Linked DNA regions of Homo sapiens: regions 1, 2, 3 and 5 are each linked to region 4. The links are contacts of gene promoters, found by promoter capture Hi-C in blood cells and fetal thymus (Javierre and others, 2016). All regions are on one chromosome and are shown on one strand. Each heading gives the region's core, a stretch centred on a gene start or on the middle of the fragment in contact. The rest is flanking DNA. Distances are from core to core; before and after follow the strand shown.

Region 1 (2,847 bases), core at 314-2,813, 420 kb before region 4:
GATGTCTTTCTTTAGGTTTGGGAAGTTCTTTGTTATTTTCTCTTTGAAAAAACTTCCTACCCCTATTGCTTTCTCTAGCTCATCTTTAAGGCCAATAACTCTTAGATTTGCCCTTTGGGGGCCATTTTATAGATCCTGTTGATGCGTTTCATTTTCTGTTGTTATTTCTTTTGTCTTCTCTGACCGTGCATTTTCAAATAGCTTGTCTTCAAGCTCACTAATTCTTTCTTCTGCTTTATCAATTCTGCTATTAAAAAGCTCTGATGCCTTCTTTAGTATTCCAGTTGCATTTTTTAGCTCCAGAATTTGTGCTTGATTCTTTCAAATTATTTCAATTTCTTTGTTCAATTTATCTGATATAATTCTGAATTCCTTCTCTGTATTATCTTGAATTTCTTTTGAGTTTCTTCAACACAGCTATTTGGAATTCTCCGTCTGAAAGGTTACATATTTCTGGTTTTTTTTTTTTCCAGAATTGGTTCCTGGTGCCTTAATTAGTTCATTTGGTTAGGTCATGTCTTCCTGGATTGTGTTGATGCTTATAGATGTTCTTCGGTGTCTGAGCATTGAAGAGTTATGTATTCATTGTAGTCTTCTCAGTCTGGGCTTGTTTCTACCTGGGCTTCATGAGAAGGCTTTCCATATATTCAAAGAAACTTGGTGTTGTGATCTAAGCTGTATCTGCTTTAGAGGGCATGCCAAGCCCAGTAATGCTGTGGTTCTTGCAGACTCATAGAGGTAACACCTTGATGGTCTTTCTTTCTGGAAGATGGCTCTTCCAGACAAGATCTGGAAGAATTTTCTGGATTACTAGGCATAGATTCTTGTTCTCTTGTTTTTTTACTTTCTCTCAAATGTAAGAAGTCTTTCTCTCTGTTCTGAGCCACCTGGAGCTGGAGTGGACTGACACAGGCACCTCTGTGGCCACCACCACCAGGACTGCACTGGGTCAGGCTTGAAACCAAACAGCACTGGGTCTCACCCAAGACCTGCTATAACCACTCCATGGCTATGTCTTATGTTCACTCAAGGCCCTGGGGCTCTACAATCAGTAGGTGGCAAAGCTAGCTAGACCTGTGTCCTTCTCTTCAGAGTGGCAAGTTTCCCCAGGCCCCAGGTAGGTCCAGAGGTGCCATCTGAGAGTCAGGGACTAGAGTTAAAAACCTTAGAAGTCTACTTGGTGTTCTATTTTACTGTCACTGAGCTGTCACTCAAACCACAAGATGCAGTCCTTTCTACTCTTACCTCACCTTTCCAAAGGCAGAGGAGCCTCACCCCATGGCCACTGCCACCAGAAACCCATGAGGAGTACTGCCGGAGTATAGCTGATGTTCTTTTATGGCCTGAGGGCTCTTCATTCAGCTTGCAGTGAATGCTGCCTAATCTGAGACTCACCCTTCAGAGCAGTGGGCTCCCCTCTGGCTCAGGGAATGTCCAGAAATGCTATCAAAAAGCCAAGTACCAGAATTGGGGTCTCCATAAGCCTGCTTGGTGCTCTAAACCCCTGTGACTGAGCTGGTACATAAGGTGCAAGAGAAAGTCCTCTTTATTTTTCCCTCTGCCTTTCTCGAGTGGAAGGAATCTTGCCCCATAGCTACCACAGCTGGGAATGTGCTGAGTCTCACCCAACACCAGTAAGTCTCCAAGTCTCATCCAAGGCCCTCAGTGTAGTACCTGGGTATCACTGCTGGTTATTCAGGGCCCAAGGACTCTTCAGTTAGCAAGTGATGAATACTGACAGGACTGAGTTCTTTCCTTCAAGGCAGTCAGTTCCCTTCTGGCCCTGGGTGTATCTAGAAATGTTGTCTGGAAAGAGGGCCTCATGACTCTGACCAGTGCCCTATCCTGCTGTGGTTGAGCTGGTATCCAAGATGTAGGACAAAGTCCTCTCTATTCTTCCCTTTCCTCTCCTCAACTGGAGGGAAGGGGTCTTTTTTTGGAGCCAAGAGCTATGCAGCCTGTGGTAAGGGAAGGAGAGATGCCTGCACTCCCTTAGCTGCCCCAGTTGGTTTCTCAGTAGGTCCTGTGGTCCCCCAGTCCATTGTTTCTGGGACCAGTTCAGCACTAGGACTTGCCAAAGAATTGCAGTCCTTGTGGCCTAGACTGCCTTTCAAGAGCTCCAGGGCTGGTTTAAATGCTCCCCCCATGGGCAGGCATCAGCTGAGTTTGGTCTGGTTTTGTTTTCTGTTATAATAGGGCAGCACTGAGTTCAATGCCTCACAATTGCTGTGATCTCCCTCTCCCCAGAGCACAGAAATGTTGTCTGCACTTTGCCATTGCTGCTGGGGAATGGGGAAGGGGTAGTGTCCGCAATTCAAGACTGTTTTTCCTACGTCTTCAGCAATGTGAAGTTAAAACCAAGTACTGTGAATGCTCGCCTGATTTCTAGTTCTTATGAAGATGCTTTTTTTAATGTGTAGACAGTTGTTAAATTGGTGTTGTGCCATCTTGCTCTGCCACCTTGCCTATTTAATTTTTCCAAGAATCATTTTCTCCATGTGTAAGTTGGAATAATAGTAATATTTACCTCATAGTTGATCTTGAGGAATAAATTAGATTATATACACAAAATTCTTGATGCAGTGTCTGGCACATAGAAAATGAAACTTCTTTAATATATGCACACATACATACACATACCACACTTCATTGTCTCATCTTACATGGTTGACTCTTTCCTCCTTAATTAAAAAGAAAAGCTGAAAAAACCCTCATCTTTCCTAGGGAACAGAATGGTGACCCTCAACTGATTATTTATGCACTTGGGAAAATATTTTCTTCTCAACTCTCCCTTACCTTTTACCTTTCTATCCCCCACATCAGGAGCAGGAGAAGATCAGAGAAATC
Region 2 (2,700 bases), core at 156-2,655, 500 kb before region 4:
GCAGCACAAGGAGGTCAGTTTGTCTGGAGTGGAGTGGGGGATGAGGAGAGTCATATGAAGTGAGGTCAGAGAATTAAGGAGGTAGGTGAAGGGTTATTCAGGCACGTCCTTACTGGGCACTGTAAGGGCTTTGGGTTTTACTCTGAGTGAGGTAGGGATCCTCTTTAGGGGAGTGATATGATCTGACTTATGCTTTAAGAGGGTCTGACTTCTGCGTTGTGAAGAGACTATGGATGGGCAACGGTAAAGGCAAGGAGACCAGGAAAGAGCTGTGGCAACAATCCAAGAGATAGGTGAGGGTGAAAAGGGCCAGGGTGGGAGCAGCAGAGGTAGTGAGAAGTGGTCAGATCCTGGAAATATTTTCAAGGCAAGAGGTGACAGGATTTACTGACTGATAGGATGTGGGTTGTGAGAGAGAAAGAGGTCAGGCATGCTGGGTGGGTTTGATGATACCCAGCTCAGACACACACAGGTTATTTTTGACCTGAGTGACTGGAGGGATGAAGTAACAATTAACCAAGATGAAGACAGGGAAGATCAGGAGTTCACGTGTGAGAGAGAAGAGGAAAAGTTCTGTTTTGGATAAGTTGAACCTAAAGGGACTTGTGTTTCCAACACTTTATATTTCAACACTTTATATTCAAAAATATAAAGTAGGCAGTTCTGGATATGATTCTAAAGTTCAAGAGAGAGGTTTGGGCTGGATGTAGAAATTTGAGAGTCATGGAATATAACACTATTGAAAGTCATGAGACTGGATAAGTGAATGTTGACAGAGAAAAACAGAGGAACAAGGACTGAGTCTTGGCATACACCAGGATAAAGAGATTAGAAAGAAGAGGAGAAACCAGTAAAGGAGAGGGAAAAGAAGTGACCCACAGGGTAGGAGGAAAACCAGAGTGTGGGCTCCTAGAAATCAGGTGGAGAAAGTGTATGAAGGAGTAGGGAATGGTCTACTATGTCAAATGATTTTTACAGATCAAGTATGACGAGTGCTCAGAAATGCTGAGAATTGAGCCAACAAAGTAGGGGTCATTGGTGACTTTGATAAGAGCAGGTTTGGTGTGACTTTGAGGACAAACATCTTATTTGAAGGAGTGTAAGAAAGAATAAGAGAAGAAAAACTGGAGAGAGCAGATACAGACTCACTTGAGGACTTTTATAGTAAAATATAGCATATTATTAAGGGGAAAAGAGCCAAACACATAAAGAAATTTGAAAGAGAAGTGGAAAAGAAATCAATTCAATTAGGCAAGATGAAGAATAAAGTGGAGGATGGAAATTAGAAATTTATTTATTAGCAGAAAACTAATACTTCTAAATATTTTTGAAGGTCCTTATTAGGAATGCTCAGCCCTGGGCTGGGTGTTGCACCCTTCAGTCTTTAAAGAGATTACAGTCAAGTTGGTAGGACAGGCCTTCTATGTAAATGTTTAGATGATCACAAAAAGATTAGAACCATGGCAGTTCTGGGCATGACAAATGTCAAGTAAACGTTCCAGATCAGCTCTGGTCTGAATTATAGGAGTCGGGGGATTCATTGTGGAACAAGATGGTAAAACCATTTCTAGAAAGGATGTGGGTCAAGAGCTGGACCTATATCCCTTGAGAGATAGGTGGGAATGACCCAGCAGACAGATGTGAACAAAAGCAATAAACAGTAATGCTCTTGGTGTGGGCAAGGCCCAGTAAATCACTCCTTCTGCCACTGTGCTGAGCAGATGTTTCATGAATAGGGGAAGAGTGGGAAAAACAACATATGAGGGCAATAAATCCTTTTAAGGTCTCCTTCTAGTCAATAGTTGTGACTTCCCAACTCAATGAACCTTTAGTTTTAAGTCACTAAGAAGAAACAAAACTAAGAAATTGTCCATTCTTTAAAGGCAGACACCCTCACCTCTTCCCCACTGTGGGTGGTACTTATAGAGATGGCACACCCAGAGATGGGCAGAGAGAGGAAGAGGATGTGGCACACCACTCGGATAGAGAGGTCAGAGGGATCAACAGCCTGCTGTCTGCCAGGACTTTTAAGAAAATGCTCCTTGGTCTTTGGCTGTGTCTTATTGACTTAACCTGTATATAGAAGAAAGGAATTTTTGTAGGTCAGTCAAATGTATAAATGCCCTTATAAATTAATATATCAATGACATATTCAATACATACACCACTTTTCAACTTCTGTAGCTTTTATACCTTGTATGAAGAGAAGGAACATTGAAGGAGCTTGCTAGATTATCCAGCTCAGACCCACCCAGGCAATTCATAGGCAAAATACTTGTTTCCTCAGAGGGTTTGCAGGAATAAGCTGGTGTTGGGGGAAGGGGGAGGGAAGGAAAGGAAAATGAAAACAATGTGTAAAATAAAAATCACAAAGAGAAGGCCCTGGCTTTGTCTCCTTCCATTGTCACTTCCCCATCTCAATAGCACTCTCTTAGTGATTCCTTCCTGTCCCTGACTCTGGCTTCTTCCAAGTGCACTCCTAGTTCCCTTCCAGGCCTTCATGTCAGGAAACCAGCCTCTGCTTATCTGTGGTTAGGATGAGCCAGTTGTCAAAAAAAATTCTCTAGTTCCAGAGCTTTCATTCTCCTCATAAGTTACCTTTCTGAGCCCTCCTTCTACATAGCCAAATGTCTCTTTCCTCCTAGAACAAAAGAAGAGAAAACTGCTTTCCTATGAGCCCCCTCTTCTGAAGAGACATTT
Region 3 (2,700 bases), core at 65-2,564, 480 kb before region 4:
TTTAGAAAAACTTTTTAAAAACCTTTTAAAAATAGTCTGCAGAACAAAACTTCTTTTGCCGTCACTGTACACATATATGAATACCTTATGACAATTAAGGAAAGATAGCTGTACACCAGCCTTGCTTTGAATTTAGAGCTGAACATGTCTGCTGGTATAAAATTGTATCAGTAGATATGTGTGTATATTCCCCAGTTGTGTCAAGCACAGATCAGACACCTCTCCTCCCCATGCTGTAATATGTATTACAAATGCAATAACAAGTTAAAGTGGAAGAAGATGGGTAACACAAAACCTTACTTTTGATCATTTTAGTGTTTAAGTTCTGGGTGATTTTGTCTGATTTATATTTATGATAATGAATAGAGTCAGTTATTAAATATTGTTGGTGACTTGACTTTAGAACCAAAAATTAAGACTCATGATTTTTTAAGTGCCTCGATCAATTTAATTGAAGCTATCCTGAGATTTCAATATGAGCTGTTAACAGTTACAATTGCTTCTCTGTTTGACTTGATTTCTAAAGGTCTGGTTCCCTCAATGTGTAAGTCTCATGTAAGCTTAGCAAACCAGTAATTTTCCTTCTCAGCCTTCAGTTTTCTGTCTGTACATTGAAGCATTTGAAACAGATGATCATCATGATGTGCTTCAGCTCTGTAACTCTCTGAGGGTTCTCTTTAGTTCACAGCTTATTTACACAGTTAATAAAATTCATTTCTGGGAGCTCCTCTGCATGTCATCTGACAACTAATGTCAAAACGGCAGAAGTATACTAAATAGTAAAGTGGCTTATAACTACAAGTAGATTAAATGCTTACTTGTAGTTTATATTAGGTTCTCACTGACATTGCAATTTGTTGAGAATTATGTAAAAACTGGAAGAATTAAACATAGCTGAGTAAATGTGGCTGGGATGCACCTCTTCCATGGAGAAAAACCAAAATATTGAGTAAACCTTCACACTTCGAACAGAACTTTTGAGAGAAAACACTGAAATTTAATAGAGAAGCAACAGAAGACCTCGTGGTTGAAGAAAGAGGAAACAGGGCTGCCTGCTTGGCATCAGGACTGACCCCTAGACCCAGGTCACACCCAAGGAAGCAGTGAGTAAAGGAACCCTGGGACACCTCATTCCTGCTGTGGACCTCTGAGCTCCTAGCTACAAGAGTTCCTATGACCTCTACAGACTGGCAGGGGGAGCTGCCTAGAGAACACACCAAGGGACTGCTTGAAACTGCATGCTAAAGATCTTTTTTTCACAGCTGCAGCAAAATGCAACTCTGGGTGCCCACCTTCCAAGGCTTTGCATCCTGTCCTAAGAAGTTGCAGCTCCTGTTGTCTGCCAGGCCAGGAGAGAGTGGAGGTCAGGCACTCATGCACCCAAGACAAGCCCCAATGCCATTGCCACAGGACTAAGATGCATCCGAACCACATGCCTCCATCCCTGCTGGTCCCTCCTAAGACTGCCTGGCCATTCCCAGGAGGAGCTGGGAGGAGACCCACAGTATAGCCTTTACTGCTCCGCCTGAGTGGTTTGTTGGTGGCAGCCTGGGAGCACTTTACTCCCCCATCATAGTTGGTGCTAGACCCCAAGGAGACAGAGGGTAATTAAGTTGGCCTGGTTCCAATTTTCTAGGCCTCAAGCACACCACCCAGAAGTATGGAGATAAGATCTACGGCCTGATCTCCAGTGGAGGATCTCCTCTGTTAAAACACAGAGAAGAGTGTGTCAGGTTCATGTGGTGGTGCAGGAGCTGGGCACCCCTCTCTTCACAACGCTGGTGGGAAGGGTGTGGCCTGATAGCGATTTCTGCTGCAGGGTGTCTCGTGGTCTAGAATACATGGAATAGCTTGGTGATCTTGGCATGGATGGGTTGAAACTAACCTAATGGGTTAGGCCTGTTGCTCTTGGGGTTGTGGGAGGTGAGTGGGCCTGACAGCTGCCTGCTGCTCTGAAGACCCTGGGCGCCTCTCTTCCCTTGAGAGTGCCCTGTGTTGCAGGCGAAGGACCTCTGCCCCTCCCTGGAGGGTTGTCCCAGAGGCCTGAGAGCTACCCATAGAACCTCACCAAGCTTGGTGCTTGCATCCAGCCAGGGGAGCTTGACTGTGGGCTCACCTAACACCGCCTTGCTCAACTTTCCCCTCTTCAGCCACCTTGGCAGCAGAGCATGGGAGAGAACCCCTGAGAGCTCCACACTCTGCCCCTCACCAGGAACACCCTGGTACATTCCCCCATCAATAAAGTCCAAGTAAAAATTCCACTGCCATCACTGCAACTGCCTTTTGCCTGCAAGCACCACCTACTGGCCAGGAGGTCAAATTGCATGGTCCATCACAACTTCTGCTGACATCAGTGTATAGCACTCAATTGGCTCTTACCAGCAAGTGTCACCTGCTGGTCTGTAGGGTGAACTGCACAACCCCAATATGATTCCTGCTGACACAAGGGCACAGTGCTGGGAAACAAGCCTCTCAAAACTTCTACATCCCCATTTCTATAGGAGGTAGTGAGCTTGACCACATGCACAGCACACAAATACTACAATCTACAAGCAACTAGCATTTGTGAAAACCACTACACTAAGACTATCTATGACCAAAGAATTCATATAGAGCCTTGGCTCCCTAAAAACACATAGAAACAAAACCAAAGGACTCTACCCCATATATGCAACAGTCACACCCTCAAGGGGGGAAGAA
Region 4 (2,700 bases), core at 188-2,687:
CTAGCTACACTTCTGGAATTTGGAGACACAAGCACTGTCTGTGGTACAGTGATCATAACCACACACACTCTTACCAGCCTCCATGCACTGAAAACCCTATTTCCTGTAGGCAGAAACAAGCCCAGGCATTTGCCAAGACTGCTCATCTCATTCTGGTTTCATTGGAGGTGCTTAATCTCAGACAAGACCATCAGAAATCAGTTTGTATTACCTGAACTTTATCAGGGAGAAACATTTCTAACCCAAAGCAACCACCTAGAAAACAAGATTATCAGACTAGCTCAACAAAGGAACACGAAGAGAGTATAGATTTATTTTTCTCCAGTGGCATCTTCTGCAGTGAAGAACATCCTTAAATACCTAATAATGTTTGTATATCTGAACTACTGAATAAGAAAAAATAATGCAAAAGAGAGAAGTGTGGAACAAGAATAAAGTGAAAGAAAAATGGAAATATTTTAACTATATGGGGAAAATACTAGAAGGATAATCTCCTACTACATGATGTATTTAATAAGGTAGGGAAAAGGTGAAATGATGTCTTTAAATTATGACTGGAAGAGATAGATTGTGAGAAACAATATCTGATTAAATCATTGGGGTGAATGAGTGAGCACATAGGCACACACACATGCACGCACACATTGCTCCGCTATTAATATTGATACCTTCAGCATTCTTTACAAAGAAAATCACCTTGCAGGTCTATAGGGTATATGAATATTATGGGAAAGTGGAACTGGTCTCTTTCCTATTTCCTTTTAATATTAATTGCCTGATCAAACACATTACTATCACAATGGGTAGACCAGGTATATCAGTGACTCAAAGCTTCAAAGTGACAGCTTATAAAGGGATACAAGGAATCTTGCATTGCAAAGAAAAAGAAAAAGATCTAGAAGCTGTGCCTCTGCCCTACCTCCACTCTGCCCTACCACTGCCACTGCTGAAAAGAAGGAAGGAAAGGAGAGACAGAAGGGCGTTTAACCACACTTTACGATTGCTGTGGGGAGAGGGAAAAAAAACTCAACACTTTTGGCATAAGATTATTTCCAAGCGACTGTTTGCAGCTGTTGCAGCTGCCATCAGCATGAGCTGGTGGGAAAACAGCGCCCAGTGGTGCATCTTACCTGAAGAGCAGAGAAGTGCAGGCAGATGTAGGTGAAGCACAGGAGCAGCCCCAGTCCCTGAATTACAGAGGCCACCAGCAATAGCTTGTTCCTCTCGAATCTTGGCCTGGCTGCATTTCCCACATTCTCTTCCAGGGGTTGGACCCTTTCCATCTTCACAATCTGGGTAGAGGGAAGATGAAGATATGGAAAAGGGGAACGTGCGATAAAACTGAAGTTTTCCCCAGAAAGAAGGAGGTAAAGACAAAACAAAGCCTATCAATCAGAAAATAGGCAAAGGTCCCAGGGCCAGAGATAAAAGGCGATTGAAAGAGCAAAGCGGACTCTCTCAGTTTTAACGCTGCAACTTTTGCAGGCAGGCGGGGGAACTTCTTTGTGACTAATCTGAATTTCCCCTTTACTTTCTTTCTTTTTTTTTTTCCTCTGGGCTAACAGGGAGTTGTTTTTGTGACATTCCAGTTCTGATTTGAGTGACTGTGAAATGACAGTCATAAAAGTATGCTATTTTCTTAACTTATTGCACCAGTAACAAATTGTGGGTCACTTGGTAAAGATAAAAATCATCATCCGTTAATGTAGCAGCTCATATATCCCTTCCCCAAGGTGTCTTAAATCATAGAAAAGATTTAGGGGAAATGCTGGCCCAAGGTTCTTATCTGCACTTTACTATGTAACTAAACATTGAACCCCTCTCACAGATTCAGAAAGAAAGCACACACAGATCATTCTTGAATGAAAAAGACAAAACAAGAAAATAGGACACTGGGTCATGCAGAAGTAAAGGAGAGATCCTTGGTTGTAGTCTATTGCATAAAAATAAACTACCTTTTGGAAGCATTTACTATGTGTCAGACACTGTGTTAGATGGACTTGCAATCTTTCTCTCATTTAACCCTTTGAGGCAAATTCAATAAACAATTATATGATTAATTTTCTGCATACCAGAAAAGAAGCAGAAGGGTATCCTTGTCTCCTTTCCTTCCACTTCACATTTTTCCCGTACATAATTTTTCCATGAATGAACAAATGAATAGATGTAAATAAGCTTTGAAGATTATTTCTTTCTTTGAGGTCGTGGCTGGCCTCAGAACTTGGAAAGTAAGAGTATTCTATCAATAGACACCAGGTACCCTTTACCACTAAAATAAACAATGAAATGAAATAAATGATAAAATTACTTATAATGTAAAGTTCAAATGGGCAAATATTTACTGAGTACATCACATGAGCCTGGCACTGTACTGGACAACATAAGGATGCTGGGGAAAAGCTGTTTAAGACGGAATTGTCTCTCTTTGTGGCCAAGTATGTCTCTCTCAGCTCCCCATGAGGCACCCAGCAGATATGTAAAGAAAGGAGGGAGAAATATTTTGGATATTGACAGTATGAGTTGTTATACCACTTCACAGAAAAAATGGAAATGAGGCATACTTAAAAGAGAAAGTTTGTGGGAAATGTAAAGTACATTTATGACTACAGTATTAATCAATTAAAATATGAATTAATACCTTCACTACAATAATTATGCCTTGCATTAGGAGAACATACTGGTGTTGAGAAATTTAAGTTT
Region 5 (2,831 bases), core at 190-2,689, 440 kb before region 4:
CTGCTGTGTTCTCTACACCTTGAATTTCTAAAGTGGAATCACCTCCCACAAAACTGTCCATCTCTCAGTGGGTACTGTTCTGACCAGCTGGCCTATGTGGTTTGCATTGCTGCCATGTTGGGGGTTATTGATTAAAAATAAAATAAAATTAATCAAGATGAATTGCTTACTTCTCTCCCTTAGATTTCTTTTATTTTGATGCTCTTATTCCACTCCTCTATTATCTTTATACTATATCTCTCTTTAGTAAACCAGAATGAATTGCTCAAAAAATTTGTTATTCAAATATGAGACATCTTTTAGTTTACAAATTATTTTCTTGAATTGCAACACATTTTCTTTTGAAAATGCTGTGGTAACTAATGACCCCCAAATCCAAGTGGGATATACAGGTTTGTTTCTTGCTCAAGTTACATGTCCATCATTGACCAGTTGAGGCTCTGGTCAATGTCATCTTCATTGTGGGACCCAGGATGCTGGTGTGGCCTCTAACCGGGATGCTGCTGGGCTCATGGGAGAAGGAAGTAGGGCCTAGTGATCACATGCTGTCTCTTAAAGTTTCTTCTTGTAAGTGAAAAGAAGCTTTTGAAGCTCCCCCTCTTAAATTCCCCTAAGAATTCCTTCCAGGGTTTATTTGACCCAAAGAGAGATCAGTCCTTTTCTAATGCTAGGTATAGGGAGAACTGGGCTTTGAACAGTATGTTGCCCATCACCACTTGGGGTTGCTGCTGAAGACAAGTCAGGTATGTCCCTCCAGTGCTGCTTGTCCACTGAAGCAGCATGGCCCTGGGTTGTCCAGACACCTCCATTTCTGAAGTGGCTACACTCAGTCCGTATGGATATGGCTTTAGCAGAAAGCACTTTTGGTTAACATACACAGACACATCCAGAGGCACAAGCTCACCAATACTGAGGTCTGGTTGGATTCCAATAACTATTACTCAAAGAGCCAATATTCAATGTTCTTCCCTGTTAACCATTATCATCCAAGTGGCAACACAGCCTTTTTAAAGCTTCTCAAAATTCAACATGTTTTATATCTTTTTTCCTGTAAAAATACTACCTTACTATAGCAGATAAAATGTAACTGTTCATGGAACCATTTTATTTTCTTCCTGGTCACATAGGAAGATTTCATTTTCCAGTCCTCCTTTCAACTAGGTGGAATCTGTGATGAAATCTGCCTAGAGAATATGGGCCTTACCTTTCCTGGGCCTTGCTATAAAAACTTTTCTGTGAGATCTTCCATGAGCTCTTTAACTATGTGTTTGGAAATAAGGATTCCAAAATGGTTGCATTGCAAGTTGGGAACAGCATGAGCCTTAAATCACTACTTAGAGGGGAGCCATCAGAAGAGTGATTAACCTGCATTGGAGCTCGTCTACATGAGAAATTTTAATTTTGTGAGTTTCTGAGATTTGGGAATCTACCCGTTGTTGTGACAGAGCCTATGCTTCTTTAACCAATATAGGTATTACTCAAGGCATTTTGCCCTCCCTCGATAATGTCACTCAACTTATCTGCATAACCAAGAAGAGCCTTTTACATATATCCACTTGAACTGAAACAGTTTGCTTTAGGGGGCCTTGTTTAATGACTCCCAGTCATTAAAGAGGTTGGCAAGTTATAGGACTTATATCAGTCAGCTTGGCTAAGTTATGCTGTGGTAACTAATGACCCCCAAATCCAAGTGGGATATACAGGTTTATTTCCTGCTCAAGTTACATGTCCATCACTGACCGACTGAGGCTCTGGTCCATGCCTTGTTCACTGTGGGACCCAGGATGACGGCGTGGCCTCTAACTGTGGTGTTGCTGGGCTCATGGGAGAGGGAAATAGAGCCTAGTGATCACATGCTGTGTTTTAAAGCTTCTGCTCGTAAGTGAAAAAACATCACTTCTGCTTGCATGTAATGAACCAAAGCAAATCACATGGCTAAAGCTGATGTCATGGAGGATAATACATAATCCTCCTACAGGGAAGGACATCACAGAAAGGGGAACTGGAATATTTGGAAGAATAGTAATGCCATCTATCACAACCCTCAAAGGACACTCTTCTTACTTTATGTCTTGAAAGTCACCAATTATTTTTATTTGATTATTTATTTATTTATTTGTTTTTTGAGACAGGCTTGCTGTGTCACCCAGGTTGGAGAGGAGTAGCACAATCATGGCTCACTGTACCCCTAATCTCCTGGGCTCAAGTAATGCTCCTGCCTCAGACTCCCTAGTAACTAGGACATAAGTGTGTGCCACCACACCTAGCTAATTTTTAAAATTTCTACTAGAGAGGAGGTCTTACTATGTTGCTCAGGTTGGCGCTGAATTCCTGAGCTTAAGTGATCCTCCTGCTTCAGCCCCCTAAAGTTCTGGGATTACAGGCATGAGCCACTGCACCCAGCTTATCCTATTATTTTTAAAAGGTACAGATTAGGTTGCTGGTGAGACCTTGCTTAATTTAAATTCTTTGGAAATATATCCTTCCCTAGCACGGAGTCTGGAGATAGGCAAATATATTAATGGAAAGACAAGAGTGTTAAATAACCCCAAACTTAGTGCTCCTCAAATAACCTTGTGAAAAAGGGATACTCAGCCACTCTCTGCTCCTTTCTTAGTCAGATGCTCCTTACGTTAGCCTCATGATATAACTTTCTTGGGCTGTATTAGTTTTCTATTGATGCTGTACCAATTACCTCAAATTTAGCAGCAGAAAACAGCATCCATTTATTATCTCACAGTTCTGTAGCTCAGAGGTTCAGGCACAGCACCTGAAACTGCTTTGAATCTCACAAGGTTGAAATAAAGATGCCAGCATCTGGGGATGAGCTG

Evidence for each region. Contacts are between HindIII fragments. The CHiCAGO score rates a contact against its expected background, and 5 or more counts as called.
Region 1: a fragment that was not itself captured here is called in contact with the fragment with the promoter of TNFSF4 in region 4 in 3 of 17 cell types (naive B cells, M2 macrophages and activated CD4 T cells); the score reaches 9.1 in naive B cells.
Region 2: a contact is called between a fragment that was not itself captured here and the fragment with the promoter of TNFSF4 in region 4, in 1 of 17 cell types (monocytes). The highest score is 5.3, in monocytes.
Region 3: a contact is called between a fragment that was not itself captured here and the fragment with the promoter of TNFSF4 in region 4, in 2 of 17 cell types (M0 macrophages and monocytes). The highest score is 8.6, in M0 macrophages.
Region 5: a contact is called between a fragment that was not itself captured here and the fragment with the promoter of TNFSF4 in region 4, in 14 of 17 cell types (M0 macrophages, M2 macrophages, M1 macrophages and 11 more). The highest score is 17.0, in M0 macrophages.

Annotation. Positions count from the first base shown.
Region 1 is chr1:172,786,971-172,789,817 of GRCh38, forward strand. No RefSeq gene overlaps it. Among named protein-coding and RNA genes, the nearest start is that of FASLG, 130 kb to the left of the region's middle. The HindIII fragment of the contact is 3,168 bases long and covers 1-2,847 here.
Region 2 is chr1:172,702,250-172,704,949 of GRCh38, forward strand. No RefSeq gene overlaps it. Among named protein-coding and RNA genes, the nearest start is that of FASLG, 44 kb to the left of the region's middle. The HindIII fragment of the contact is 3,439 bases long and covers 1-2,700 here.
Region 3 is chr1:172,725,837-172,728,536 of GRCh38, forward strand. No RefSeq gene overlaps it. Among named protein-coding and RNA genes, the nearest start is that of FASLG, 68 kb to the left of the region's middle. RefSeq lists a silencer at 2,439-2,488. The HindIII fragment of the contact is 1,512 bases long and covers 559-2,070 here.
Region 4 is chr1:173,205,894-173,208,593 of GRCh38, forward strand. It overlaps TNFSF4 (TNF superfamily member 4), which reads right to left and starts at 1,438. Exons shown (of 3, transcript NM_003326.5): 1 at 1,131-1,438. The coding sequence starts at 1,283. RefSeq lists an enhancer at 1,370-1,429. The HindIII fragment of the contact is 1,344 bases long and covers 830-2,173 here.
Region 5 is chr1:172,764,787-172,767,617 of GRCh38, forward strand. No RefSeq gene overlaps it. Among named protein-coding and RNA genes, the nearest start is that of FASLG, 110 kb to the left of the region's middle. The HindIII fragment of the contact is 856 bases long and covers 1,012-1,867 here.